Regions from separate parts of the Homo sapiens genome. Here region 1 is linked to region 2. Evidence: promoter capture Hi-C in human tissues and cell types (Jung and others, 2019). All regions are on one chromosome and are shown on one strand. Each heading gives the region's core, a stretch centred on a gene start or on the middle of the fragment in contact. The rest is flanking DNA. Distances are from core to core; before and after follow the strand shown. Region 1 overlaps OLA1 (Obg like ATPase 1). Region 2 holds the start of SP9 (Sp9 transcription factor).

Region 1 (6,111 bases), core at 82-2,581, 250 kb after region 2:
TGTCTTTTCAGGTAACAACTAGGATCAGTTTCCTAACTGATTTGGCTTTCCAAATCCTTTGTGATTAAAGGAATTTCTTTCCTCTGCAGTTCTATTATTCTTGTTCTCACAAAAGTCAGGTTCATACAGCTGCGTACGTGATCAACCATATTTGTAAATCTGTATTTCTGCACGTGCTTGTTCTGGCTAGGAAAAAGCTTCCTCAAAACTAGTGACCACTGTGAGTTCTGTTAGTCCATGAAGGAACTAAACCAGGCATATAGATATCTGGCTGGAACAAATTATTTATTTGTGAAGGGCTCTTCAGAATTAGCTGGTATTTTTAGGTATGATTCCTGTACAAACAGAACTTTATGTCTTCTTTTAAAAATTTACTTTGTAAAGTAAGGAAAACAAAAAATTATAAAATGGAAGCTTTATTCAAGGGTACAGGTGTTAATGCTGAACAATTTTAGTGTAACTAAAAAAAGTTTTTAAATATTTGTATAATAGTTTCCATAGATAATGTGCTAAAGTAAAACTAGGTTACAGTAAAATACTATGGCGTATACCTGAAGCAGTTGCTGCCTGTTAATGCCTTGACCTTGGAAAGCTATATACAAAAAGATGGCATCATAAAACCGTGCAATTCTTATGAATATGTATGTGCTACTTGATAATAATGAATGTGGTACAGTCATGCATGCACTACAAGATAATGTTGTGCCCTTTTTTGTCTACAGGTTGATAAAAATTAAAGAGTGGGTGGACAAGTATGACCCAGGTGCTTTGGTCATTCCTTTTAGTGGGGCCTTGGAACTCAAGTTGCAAGAATTGAGTGCTGAGGAGAGACAGAAGTATCTGGAAGCGAACATGACACAAAGGTTAATTAGCATTCATTTTCCCTACACTTTATTATCAACTATTTCCTTGCAGTAATTTAATTGCTTGCGCTGATAGAATAATAAATGACAGAGTAATTACCATTATAAAGAGGGAATCTTCTCCTTTCTTTACCATGAGACAGAGTGAAAAGATTTATTTTAAATTAAGTTTTTAACTGTCATCTGTCATCTCCGTACAGTGTTTTAATTATAACATAGGTATTAGTTATGTATATTTTTGAGAAGGAATGATCGCCAAAACTCTTTCGTCATGTTCAGTGGGGGAGGGGAAAGGGTGAATCAGTTGCCATAATTTTTTCTGAGTAACAGTAATATATTGTTTAAATATCAGATTTCAATCAAATAATTTTGCTTTTATGGCCAGGTCCTGGAAATAATTAATTTTGGATGAAAATAGTCATAATTTTTCTTTTTTTAAATAGCAAACAATTCAAAATAATATCTTCAGGCTAATACAATTAAAACCAATTTTAGAAGAGAGGTTTTTAAAAACAGTTACTTGCTTTCTGAACCCTTCCAGTGTATTCTGAAAGATGAATGGTCATTTACTACTATCTTTAACATTTTCTGCTTGAAATGAATAATTTTAGCTCTATACCAATTTCTGGCACAATCAACTTATGTGTTGGGTGAATTTGTTTCATTTGATTTCAGTGCTTTGCCAAAGATCATTAAGGCTGGGTTTGCAGCACTCCAACTAGAATACTTTTTCACTGCAGGCCCAGATGAAGTGCGTGCATGGACCATCAGGGTAAGATTCATACTTATTCATCAGCTATATCCAGTTCCACACTATTGAATTCAGATTGATATCACTGACTTTGAAGTTTGTCATGGTGGCGGTTAGCTAGTCATTACAGATGAGGTTTTTGTCCAGGATAACTTTAATTATTTGTGAGCTGCTGAACAGTGAAAGTGGAGCGGCATTGATTGAGGCAGGTAACAATTGATTCTGCCTATTACATAGTCTGAATTTCTTCATCCTGTAGAATCTGTCTACCCTCCTCCTGTGGTCAGAGATAAGACGCACCAGTATTGTGCTTGCTTAATCTGTGTGACTGGGTTTGTCTGCAGTGAAATTGATGTTGCTTTTCATTTTGTATTCGCTAAGTTTGTTTGGGTTGCGGGTGGTTCTTTCCTCCTTTGCTTTGCTCGGATTACATTTTCAGCAATAAAAGCAATATGACATCATTATGCTCTTCATAGATACACAGTTGGGCTCAAAAAGCTAAACTCAACGTGTAATAATTCATGCCTTTTTAAATTTGAATTCATAGAAGTAATGTTTATTTTCAGTGTTATATGTTCAGTCTTACTTCTTTAAAAATGTGATATGTATTTTAAAAATTGATGTATACTGAATACAACAGAGAGAATGACTAATTTATTCCCAGAGGACAATAGAAACTGAACTGTAATGGTTTGCTTTTAAATTTAAATATATTGTAACATAGTAGTTACTATTGAAAAATATTTTGAAATATATGTGATCCTAAATAGTATGTTACAGAATATAAAAATAATACCAGAACTTTTAGAAATAGTGTCTTATTCAGTCTTTTATTATGCTTTTTAAATATATGCTACACGATAAATTTTAGTGGTGCTTTGATTCCTGTTTTCAGTGACTACTGTAATTTATTGTTACATGTATTTTGATTTAATATGGATAGAAACATGGAGGCAGTTAACATAATGTTAAATGCCTTGTGTGAATGTGAGATTTACTTTTCTTTTATCTCCTCTCCCCTTTGTAAAAAAATGTTTGATTGACTTCTAACCAAGGTCCTTTTATATAGATTTTAAAAATAATGTCAAAGCAAATCCAAGTTGGTAAACAAATTGCCAGGATTTATTTTTACTATATATTTTAAAGATGTATTTTAAAGCCTTAAAACTTTCTAACTTAAGTATGTGGAGGTAGGAAAGATAGCATGTTCTGGGCTTGAAAATGTGAAAGCTGGTTTATCTTAAGACTGATTGTAAGTATCCATGATTTAATGTGCTAAGATATTTAGTCAGGTAAGCATCAGTGAGTAGCTATATTAACCCAATACATCTTTTATTGTAAAAACTGTGCTTTCTAGTGTCAGACTCCTTATCACTTTAACATGCTTTATTAAGCAGCCTTTAGGTCACCGTTATTTCTCAAATTTCTTTCCATGGTTATGTGTGTGTGGAATATATATCCTTGTAATATAACATATGGGTTAATTATAAGACATTTCTCTCCCTATATCAACTTGAATTTCCTTCATGATGGTTAGAGGCAGGGAATATTATGCAAAATGTTCAAAAATTTTATTATCGAAATTTTTTGAGAGTTTCACAATTATTTGCTGAATGTAGATTTCCAATATGATTTGTTGGAAATGCCTTTAAAATGTCCCTTTGTATATTGATTTTTATATGTTCTTTAGATGAGCTGAAATTTTGAGAGCTTTTTATCTTTTTAAAACCTTTGATAATTCAGCTTGAAAGTTACTTAAAAATCTATTTTTTTCCACTGTGAAGAATAGAAAATCGAAATGAAACCTACACCAAAACCAGACCACTGCTTCTAAATCAATAAAACAGTGGATGACTGTTAGGAAAAACAAAGCCACGCTTCTTTAATATCTACTGATCTATGCTAAATCTGCTGCACAGATACTACCCAGTGTTGAAAATGTACTAATTATATACCTGACATCTTAACAGATATTAAACTAAGTTCTAGTTGAGCCCAACTGCAGATCAGAGAAAAGAAACTCTGTGCTTACAATCAGTCATCTTAAATGCAATTAGTTTTCTCTGGTCTTTCTTTTCAAAGAAAGGGACTAAGGCTCCTCAGGCTGCAGGAAAGATTCACACAGATTTTGAAAAGGGATTCATTATGGCTGAAGTAATGAAATACGAAGATTTTAAAGAGGAAGGTTCTGAAAATGCAGTCAAGGTAAAGAATTGTTTTTATTTTTGTATTTCACAATGTTTCCACTGATGCGAAGTTAGTCATGATAAAAATGAATGATAATTATCTTTTAAACTGAGTGTAGTCTAAAATAAAGTAATAAGATGATCAGCGTTTAGTGTTACTATCAACTGACTTAAGAGCTATAGATGTTTACATACTTTTAGATCATTTTAAAAATGTGTGAATTGTCAGTAGTTTTGTGGAGGTTTTTTTCTATAATTGAAAATAAAATAAATTAGGTTTAAGTAATTGTAAATAATTTCGAAGAATTTGTTCACTCATGGCCAATGAAAAATTGTACTTATTACATTTGAATAGCTGAAGTATAATATATATGCTTATAATTACTTCAAGAATAGAGATAGAAAGTTAGTTAAATAAAAGCTGTTCTTTCTAAAACTTCATGGTTTTACTTGTTTGTTGTTTAAAGATACTTGGGGATTTGATTTGCTTTCTCAACACTAGAGGGCAGGTCCAAAATTGTGCTTTATTTTAGCTAATAAGGATAATTTGGTTTGCAGACACTAATAGTGAAGCAGTTTTATACATGAGTAGTAGATGACTTGTTAAATGTAAATTCTGTTGCAAAATTAATTTTGTTTGATTTATTAGATGTTACTTAGAGAAATCTAGCAATCTCTAATATAGACAGATTAGCTGGTTAAACTGACATTGTAGGAAGGTTCTTTAATTTAATTTAATATTTGAAGACTACTATAGTAAATGTTATAGAATTTAAAGAAGATTCTTGTGTTTACTATTTCATAAGTTGAAAGGAATACAAAAAAGTTTATTTCAGGTTTACTTTATTTTCACTGGTATCATTGGAAAGGTCATACCGAACAGCAGGACTTTAATAGAACTGTTGGAACACCAGGAAGAGGAGGGGGAAAATCTTGGTATAATTGGTTCAATGTTGAATGAGAACCATTTTGTTTTTTTGAAAGAGTGGAAGGAATAACAGTTTACAAGTAAACACAGTTGTTAATTTTTTGATGGTGGCATCTGTATAGATATAGGTAGGTGTGCAAAAATACTGAGATTGAACTTTGTCAGGAATACTAATTAGACGAACAAAAATCTCAGATTATTTGTCAACATGCTACATCATGTTGGCATATCTATTTTTCATAAGGAAGATAAAAATGAGGATGTTTTCTATTACTAGAATTCAGAGATCAGATGCTTCTTTTTTTATACTCTTAAAATGGTAAGCCTGTTTACCAATCCTTAGTAGATCTATGTTGTAATAAACTTGATAGATGAATTGTAAATATTTCCTTTAACAATTGAGAGAAACTTTATAATATCCAATAAAATAATATTTCCTGCTTGTAAGACTATTTACCACTAACTGGCAGCTTTTATACTATAAATTAGAAAAGGTTGACTCTGACATTTTCACCTAGGATACCATTAAATATTTTACGTTGTTTTAACCTCCAAAACTAATATTTCAAAATTTGAAGTCCAAGTAAAATGAAGCATTTAGGAATTGCTCTCTGCTCCTTTATTCAACAAATGTTTACTTGCAGATTATCAAGTAGGTTTTAGATTTGAGAGCAAAATTGTGTATATGTGTGTGTATGTATGTATGTATGTATGTATGTATGTATGTATGTATGTATATGTATTTCTAACACCAGTGCAGCATAACTAATTTAATGCCAGTGCTGTGAACTATATACTGAATAGCTCTGTGTGGGCTTTGTAGTCTACAGGGATATCACATTATTAGCAATCATATCTGCTTAGGCAAAGCTGGCTTCTACAGATGGCTGCTTTCAAGTGCAAATGAACTGGTTAGACGTGTCTTGTTTAATACATACTCAAGATTCACAAATGGGTATTGATTTTTTTTTTCAACCAGTGTTTCTGATAGCAGTGGAAATGGATTAAATGGTCTCTAGAGAATTTAAAGGAACACTGTCACTTTTAATTAATAGTAAACTTGAGTGGTAACAAAGTATATAAAGTTACATTAATATGTCATGTCAATATGTACTTGATTTATATTGTCTATATAGTTTTATAACAGTGGGCTATAGATTCTAGAAATAAGTAGCTTATGGCCTTCAATACATTGCATGTCTTTATAAAAACATGTGAAAATATGTATTTTTATATATATACACACACACATATGTGTCATATATATGAAATATATATAAATATAAATATATATGTATACACACACACACATATGCCTTTAATTGTAGGGTACGTTACGTTGGCTTTCTAGAAATAAGCTTTATATATTCTTCATATATTTAT
Region 2 (6,165 bases), core at 3,446-5,945:
CTTCTGGTCAATTTAACTGTGCCTTATTTTGAAAGAGACTGTCTAAATGAGATTCCTGTCCCAAATGTGTTCCCAGGCCTGATCCCAGCCTTTAATTATTCCTGAGTTTTTTTCTTCAGAATAAGACGCCGCACTGAGTAATCACAAAGAAGTCAGAGAGCATCCTTGAACCTTTTCAGAAGCAGCGCCACTGATATTCAAATAACCTGCGAGGGCCATTTGACGGCGCGGGGACCTAGGCATTTCCAATTCACTATTTGCATAGATCAGCCGTCTTTGAAAAGGAAAGGAGCAGTTGTCTTCCATAACATTAAAAAGCCTAGTTATCAAATCAAGTGCTTAGTTTGGGGGCTTTTTAAAACGTTTACATTTTATCTCAGGTTGCCCTTTACCGTTTGACATGCAAATTTGGTGCAGTTAATTTAGACAATTAAAAAGATCTTCAAGGGAGCTTTGTCACAGAGAATATTTGGAGTTTTCCCCGCGGACCAGCTGAGATAAAGTTGGCCAGAACAAATGATGTCTAGGAGATTAATTAGATATTTGATAAGACATGAATCCCTAATAAGGGAATACAAGGCACAGGGGGCTGCTGTGTGCTCTAAGTCAAAATTAATAACATTTAACAAGATTTTCATTTAGGCATGAAATGTCTTTTCCGGGGTATTGACTCTAGCGATTTATTCCCTTGAGTTGCCTTCCAACATACAGGGCCTTGGGAGCTAAAAGACTTCTTTTTTTTTAAGCGTTTTCCTTTCACAGTTGTTTTTAAATCACTTTTTAAAAACAAACAAACCCACCAGAGTTTTCTCTGACCCCTCCCAGAGGTTTAGGCACCTCCCCAATTAAAGCTGCCAAGGACCTTTGCATTTTTTAGGCGCTCCAGAGTTTTAAAATGTCACCTTTTGAGAGCCTTCACATTAAGTAATACAACTACACGTCCTTACAACCCAATTTAATTTATGTTGTTGATATACAAATAAATAATTTTGACTTCTCAAAAACGTATATGTAGTATGGCTTTTATAACCCACATAAACTTTACATTACCTACAACTAACATTAAGGGAATTTTTTCCCAACCGAAAAAAAAATCGACCCACGAAAAGGTTATTGAGGGGGAAACAGGATTTTTAAAAAAGGAAATGTATTGTTCAGAGTCCTTTAATAATACCAAAATGAAAATATGATGTCAAGATTTTCTTGATACAGATAAACGCATTTAATTTCTTTAGATGACCTTAACTTACGTGTTTGTGAGTGAAATGATAACTCAACATTTTAAATATCTTTTACATATATACTGACTTTCACAAAGTGCATCAGAAAATTAAAAAAAACTCCCTGAATTTCAGGGATTCACCCAAAAAAACTCTATTCGAATGAACATTTACAAGAAAATAAAAGAGAACACAATCTTTTGAACCCTATTTATACAGATGTTATGAAATACAGAGAAACTGTCGCTAGACTTCCAGTTTAATTTCTCACCTTAAGCCTTTTGATGCTTCCTTTTTTAGGAAAAAAGTCTCATTGTAAGTAGATATCAGGCAGGACTTGGAGCATTTTATATATAATATAATCCAAACAAAGGGTGTTTTTATCGGTCCCGTTTGTTTTCAAATGTTCTGACAGTCCTTTGCTGGGTGGTGGCTTGTTTTTGAGAAAAGGAAAGAGACGGGTGTTGGAGGGAGGTGGAGAGTGGGCAAAGAGGGAGCCTTTCTATGTATTGCTCTTCGCTCGAGAAGTTTGGGCGAGTGGTATGTGTGTGCGCGCGCGAGTGTGCGTGCTTGTGGTTGTAGGTCTCCGGTGTATGTGTACGTCTGGGAGTACAGTTTTTAAAGTGTTTGTGTCGGAGGATGGTTCGCTTTTGTTTCCGGACCACGCGTTCGATTCTTATCCGGGCGCGGAAGGCAGAGGGGAGCTCCTCGCACAGCGGGCGAACCGCAGCCCGGGAGCCCTGAGCGGCTCCACCTCGCGCCCAGCCCGGGCCCTGGGGGCGTCACTGAAGCCCCTGCCCTCCCGCCTCCCGCTCGCTCGCCCTCCGAACCTCTCGTTCGTTCTCGGTGTCTCTACTCGCTTGTGTGCTCGCGCCTCTCGCCCGGCCTCTAAGAGTCGTTGGGGCCAGACGCTGCTTCCTTGCCTCCCGCGGAGGCCGCCGCCGCCGCCGCCGCCGCTGCCGCCGCCGCCGCTGCCGCCGCCCGGGCGGCACTGACGCCGGAGTCATGCAGGATGAGGTCGGGGGATTCGGAACGGGGCGTCTCCAGGTTGCTGGCGTCCGTGTCACTGTCGCTGCCCTTTTTGCCCCCGCCGCCCCCGTTGTGCGTCTTAATGTGTTTGCTCAGGTGGTCGCTGCGCATGAAGCGCTTGTTGCACACCGGACAGGCGAAGCGCTTCTCGCCCGTGTGAGTCCGCAGATGCCGCTGCAGCTCGTCCGAGCGCGTGAAGCGCTTGCCGCAGAAGAGCCAGTTGCACACGAAGGGCCGCTCGCCCGTGTGCCAGCGCAGGTGCGCCTTCAGGTGCGACGTCTTCCCGTACACCTTGCCGCAGCCCGGAATGTGGCAGCTGTGCAGGCCCTTGCGCCGCAGGCTCGCCCCGGCCGGGCCCAGCCGCTCCGCCTCCTGGCAGTTGGGGCAGTCGCAGGTGGCGCGGCCCGAGTAGCGGCGGGCAGAGCGTGCCGAGCTCCCCCCGGCGGCGGCAGCCGCGGCGCCCGATATCATGGCGCTGGCGGCGGCGGCTGCCACGGCGGCGCTGGAGTCCGAATAGGAGGGCAACACCGGCTTGAAGCCGTCCTGGGCCAGCAGGTGCTGGCTGGTGGAGAGCAGGTGGGAGGCGGCGGCGGCGGAGGAGCCGAGGCCCGTGGAGCTGAAGGCGGAGTGCGTGAGCGAGCTGAAGTCGGGGTTGTAGGTGCCCAGCTGCGAGTGCAGCGAGGCCTGGGGGGCGCCCGAGTGCAGCGAGCTCTGGAGCCCCCCAGCGGGGTTCTGCACTTCCAGCCACGAGCCCGGGCTGCTGTGCACGTCCCACCACGACGACGCCGCGCCGTTGGTCACCTCGCCGGCCGCCAGCGTCGAATGGAAGCCCGACTTGTACCAGGACTCGTACGGGTGCGCCATGCCCACGCGCGGGTACAGCCCGTCGGCTGCCGTCGTGTGCACCTTGGAAATGAAGGCCGACTGGCCACCCGCCTCCTGCGGGGACACCCCGGCCGCTGCCGCCGCGGCAGCCGCCGAGTTGGAGAAGAGGCCGCCGTAGTCGCTGCTGAAGGCGGACGACGTGGGCGACGTGGAGGCCAGGCAGAAGGCGCTGTTGGCGGCGCCCGAGCCGCCCGCCAGGCCGCCCGAGCCACGGCCCCCGGTGGCCACCGCGAAGCCCGAGAGGCTGGAGCCGAGGTTGCAGCTGGACGAGGAGCGCTTCCAGGGGTGAAAGCCGCCTTTGGCGAAGGCGCTCGACTCTGGCAGCGTCGTCAGCGGGCTCGTGTTGCCGATCTTGTTGCAGGTCGCCGCCAGCATGGCCAACGGGGTCGTTCCGAAGCGCGGCTCTTCCTAGAGTGGGTGGGATGGGGGAGGGAGCAAGAAGGAGGAGGGCAAGAGGAAGTGGGGGAAGAAACAAAGTGCACCCGTGAGCAGCCTCGTCCCCTGCGGCTGCTCCCGGGGGGTCCTGGCTCCCCGCCTCGCGCCTCCTCCCCACGCGCCCGCGGAGGAGTCGCCGCACCGGGCGCGGAGCAGGGGCGATCACCCGGGCGAAGGTCCAGGCGCCGGAAAGTTGCACTTCGCTGAGGCTATAAATCAAAGATGCCTCCGTGTTCCCCGCTGCAACCCTGCCTACAACCGGACTTGGGTTGTCGCCGTAAACCGGCTCATCTCCCAGAAGACCCCAAGTCGCCCTTCGGGGTGAAGCGCGAAGGTAAACACAGAGACCAGAGACAACAAACACCGGGTGAGGGCGGAGGCGGCCGAAACAGCTGCCAGGGACGGGCGAAACTTGCAGCTCTCCCAGGGTGGCTACGACTTGACTTTTCTTTTTTAATAGAAAACGTTTGGTTTTAAAGTTTACATACACACAAAAACAGCGATTATGAAAACAATAATCCGAGGATAAGCGGCCAGAGACAGATTTCAAAGTCATGGGCGAATTGGGGAGCCGCGGAAATGTAAATGTTTATTAGCGTGACTAGATGGACTGCAAAACGATTAAGACTGTTTTCTGGAAACACCATTGTCGCATAATTGCAACAAAATCCCCAAAGCAATGCGGGGGATGGGGTATAAATCACGAGGGGAAGAAAAGAAACCTCTAGCTTTTTTTTGAAACCAAATGAAAAAGGACTTGATTAAGAAGGCCTTTTCTTGCAAAGGCATCTTTCTGGGTTCCAAAAACTTGGGGAAAAATCAGTCCCAGAAATGTGGAAAGTGCTAATAGAAGCTGAAGCTGCAGTCTAGCAGCAACAGTTTCTCCGGAGCCGCAGACCCCAGAAGCCATAACGAAAAATTACTCCGGTTAAAACAAGCAAATGCGTTGCCGCGCTTGCGACTTACCCCGAGTATAGACGTGGCCATAGCAGGTCTCTGGCTGCGCAGCGAGGCTGGGAGCGGGGCTGAGCCTGGCGGCTGCTCGGAAAAACTGCTTGGGTCCCGCGCGGCTCCCGCGTCCCCGCGCTCGTGCCGAGCGGACTCCAGGCTCCCGCCGGCTAAACTCAGCCTAAGTGCGAGGAGCACCCGCTTTGAAGTGCCGCTGGCTGCGCCTCTCGCCCAATGAGGGCGCAGGCAGAGCAGACCGGAGCTGCCCCGCAGCCAATCAGACGCTCCGAGGGGCCCGAGCCCGGGCTCCCGGCGCGTGCCAGTCAAGTCAGCTAGCTAGGGCCGCGGGGGTGGGGGGGAGTAGTGGGGGATACTTGCGGGGGGGGGGCGAGGGCGGGCTGGGGACTGAAGAAATTACAGTGCAATTAAAAATTTACACTCACGCACCAAGCCAGGTTTAAGTACCAATGAAACCGAGCCACAAGCACCCCCCCACACACAAACCACCCCGAGATGTTGCAAGTTAGGGCTGACAGTCCTACTCGACTCCCCACTTGTAGGAAAGGAGGCAGGAGGGGAGGAGACACCCAGACACAGCCCGCACCAGCAGGGCCCAAGTGGAGACGGAAATGTGAGCCCTCACTTTGTGTGTCCAGGCTTTTGCCTACAGAACACAACTTCAGCTTGTATCTATCATTCTTGCTTGTGATTTTTATCATTTTCGTGTGTCTTCTACCCAATTCCTTATTCCACTAGATTCAATTTCACTCTCACAGTTATACTGGGGAGGGGGCGCGAAGGGACAGCTCCTCCGAGAGGAGCGAAATAGGCCTCTCTGTACAGATCTACATCCACAGATTTGTTGGGAGGGCCTGGAGCCTGCTGCATCCCGCCATTTCCCCCCAGCGGTGTAAGTGACTTCCTAATTGTCGCTCTGGCCTCTGACCCGGGGGGTAATACAAGTGCCACTCACGCTAGAGGCTTCTGGTGGTAATTGAGGGCACCCTTTGTACGGTTTCGCCAGCGCTTAGATACCAGGTTAACCCAGTTGTCAAATATGACTAAACAGTGGGATGTGCTGATTATCTGCCGGGTTTTGCTGTGGGCTGGCATGGGGGTGGGAGGCATCAGCCCATACAACACGCTGCACGAAGCCGCTTATTTTCTCACTGTAACAACTTTGGAAACAGAGACCGGCGCGAGCGGCGTCCGCCCCCACCTCCACCTCCGCTGAAGCTGCAGCTTGCTCGGCTGTTTGTTTAACCCGGTGAAGATTTGCATGTCGCGTTTCATCCTGGAGTGGAGTTTTCTTGTCCCAGCTCCAACCCACTCCCATTCCAGACCACCAGGGCCTAGAGGCTCGTCCGTAGGGCAAGTGCGCTGTTTTAAGAGGTAGGCTCCCCATTAGTGCCCTGCTTTCACGGACGCGCCCGAGAAATCTCTCCAGGACTTTCACCCGGGAGGGCGGAGGACCAGGCCACACGTGGGCGCTTCCACATTTTGCAGGCTGGAAGCATCCTGAAGTCCTCCCTGGACCTTGTCAGTGTGAAAAGAGGCGTCCTCAAGCAGACCAGGGTGCGTCTTCGAGTCCCCCAGCAACCGCTGACCTGCTTGTTTTTCTCTTTCTGGGCCCCGCTTTCTCTTTCTT

Evidence for each region. Contacts are between HindIII fragments. The study calls those that stand out against the background at their distance.
Region 1: a fragment that was not itself captured here is called in contact with the fragment with the promoter of SP9 in region 2 in 1 of the 25 tissues and cell types used here (thymus).

The regions. Positions count from the first base shown.
Region 1 is chr2:174,076,676-174,082,786 of GRCh38, reverse strand. It overlaps OLA1 (Obg like ATPase 1), which reads left to right. Exons shown (of 11, transcript NM_013341.5): 8 at 723-863; 9 at 1,539-1,635; 10 at 3,697-3,819. Among named protein-coding and RNA genes, the nearest start is that of LINC01960, 54 kb to the right of the region's middle. The HindIII fragment of the contact is 3,838 bases long and covers 1-3,250 here.
Region 2 is chr2:174,333,484-174,339,648 of GRCh38, reverse strand. SP9 (Sp9 transcription factor) reads right to left here and starts at 4,695. Exons shown (of 2, transcript NM_001145250.2): 1 at 4,536-4,695; 2 at 1,149-3,542. The coding sequence starts at 4,556. The coding sequence ends at 2,109. It overlaps LOC102724194 (a long non-coding RNA gene), which reads left to right and starts at 4,673. Exons shown (of 3, transcript XR_427194.5): 1 at 4,673-5,909; 2 at 6,024-6,092. RefSeq lists an enhancer at 1-1,114 and a silencer at 2,554-2,763. The HindIII fragment of the contact is 14,947 bases long and covers 1-6,165 here.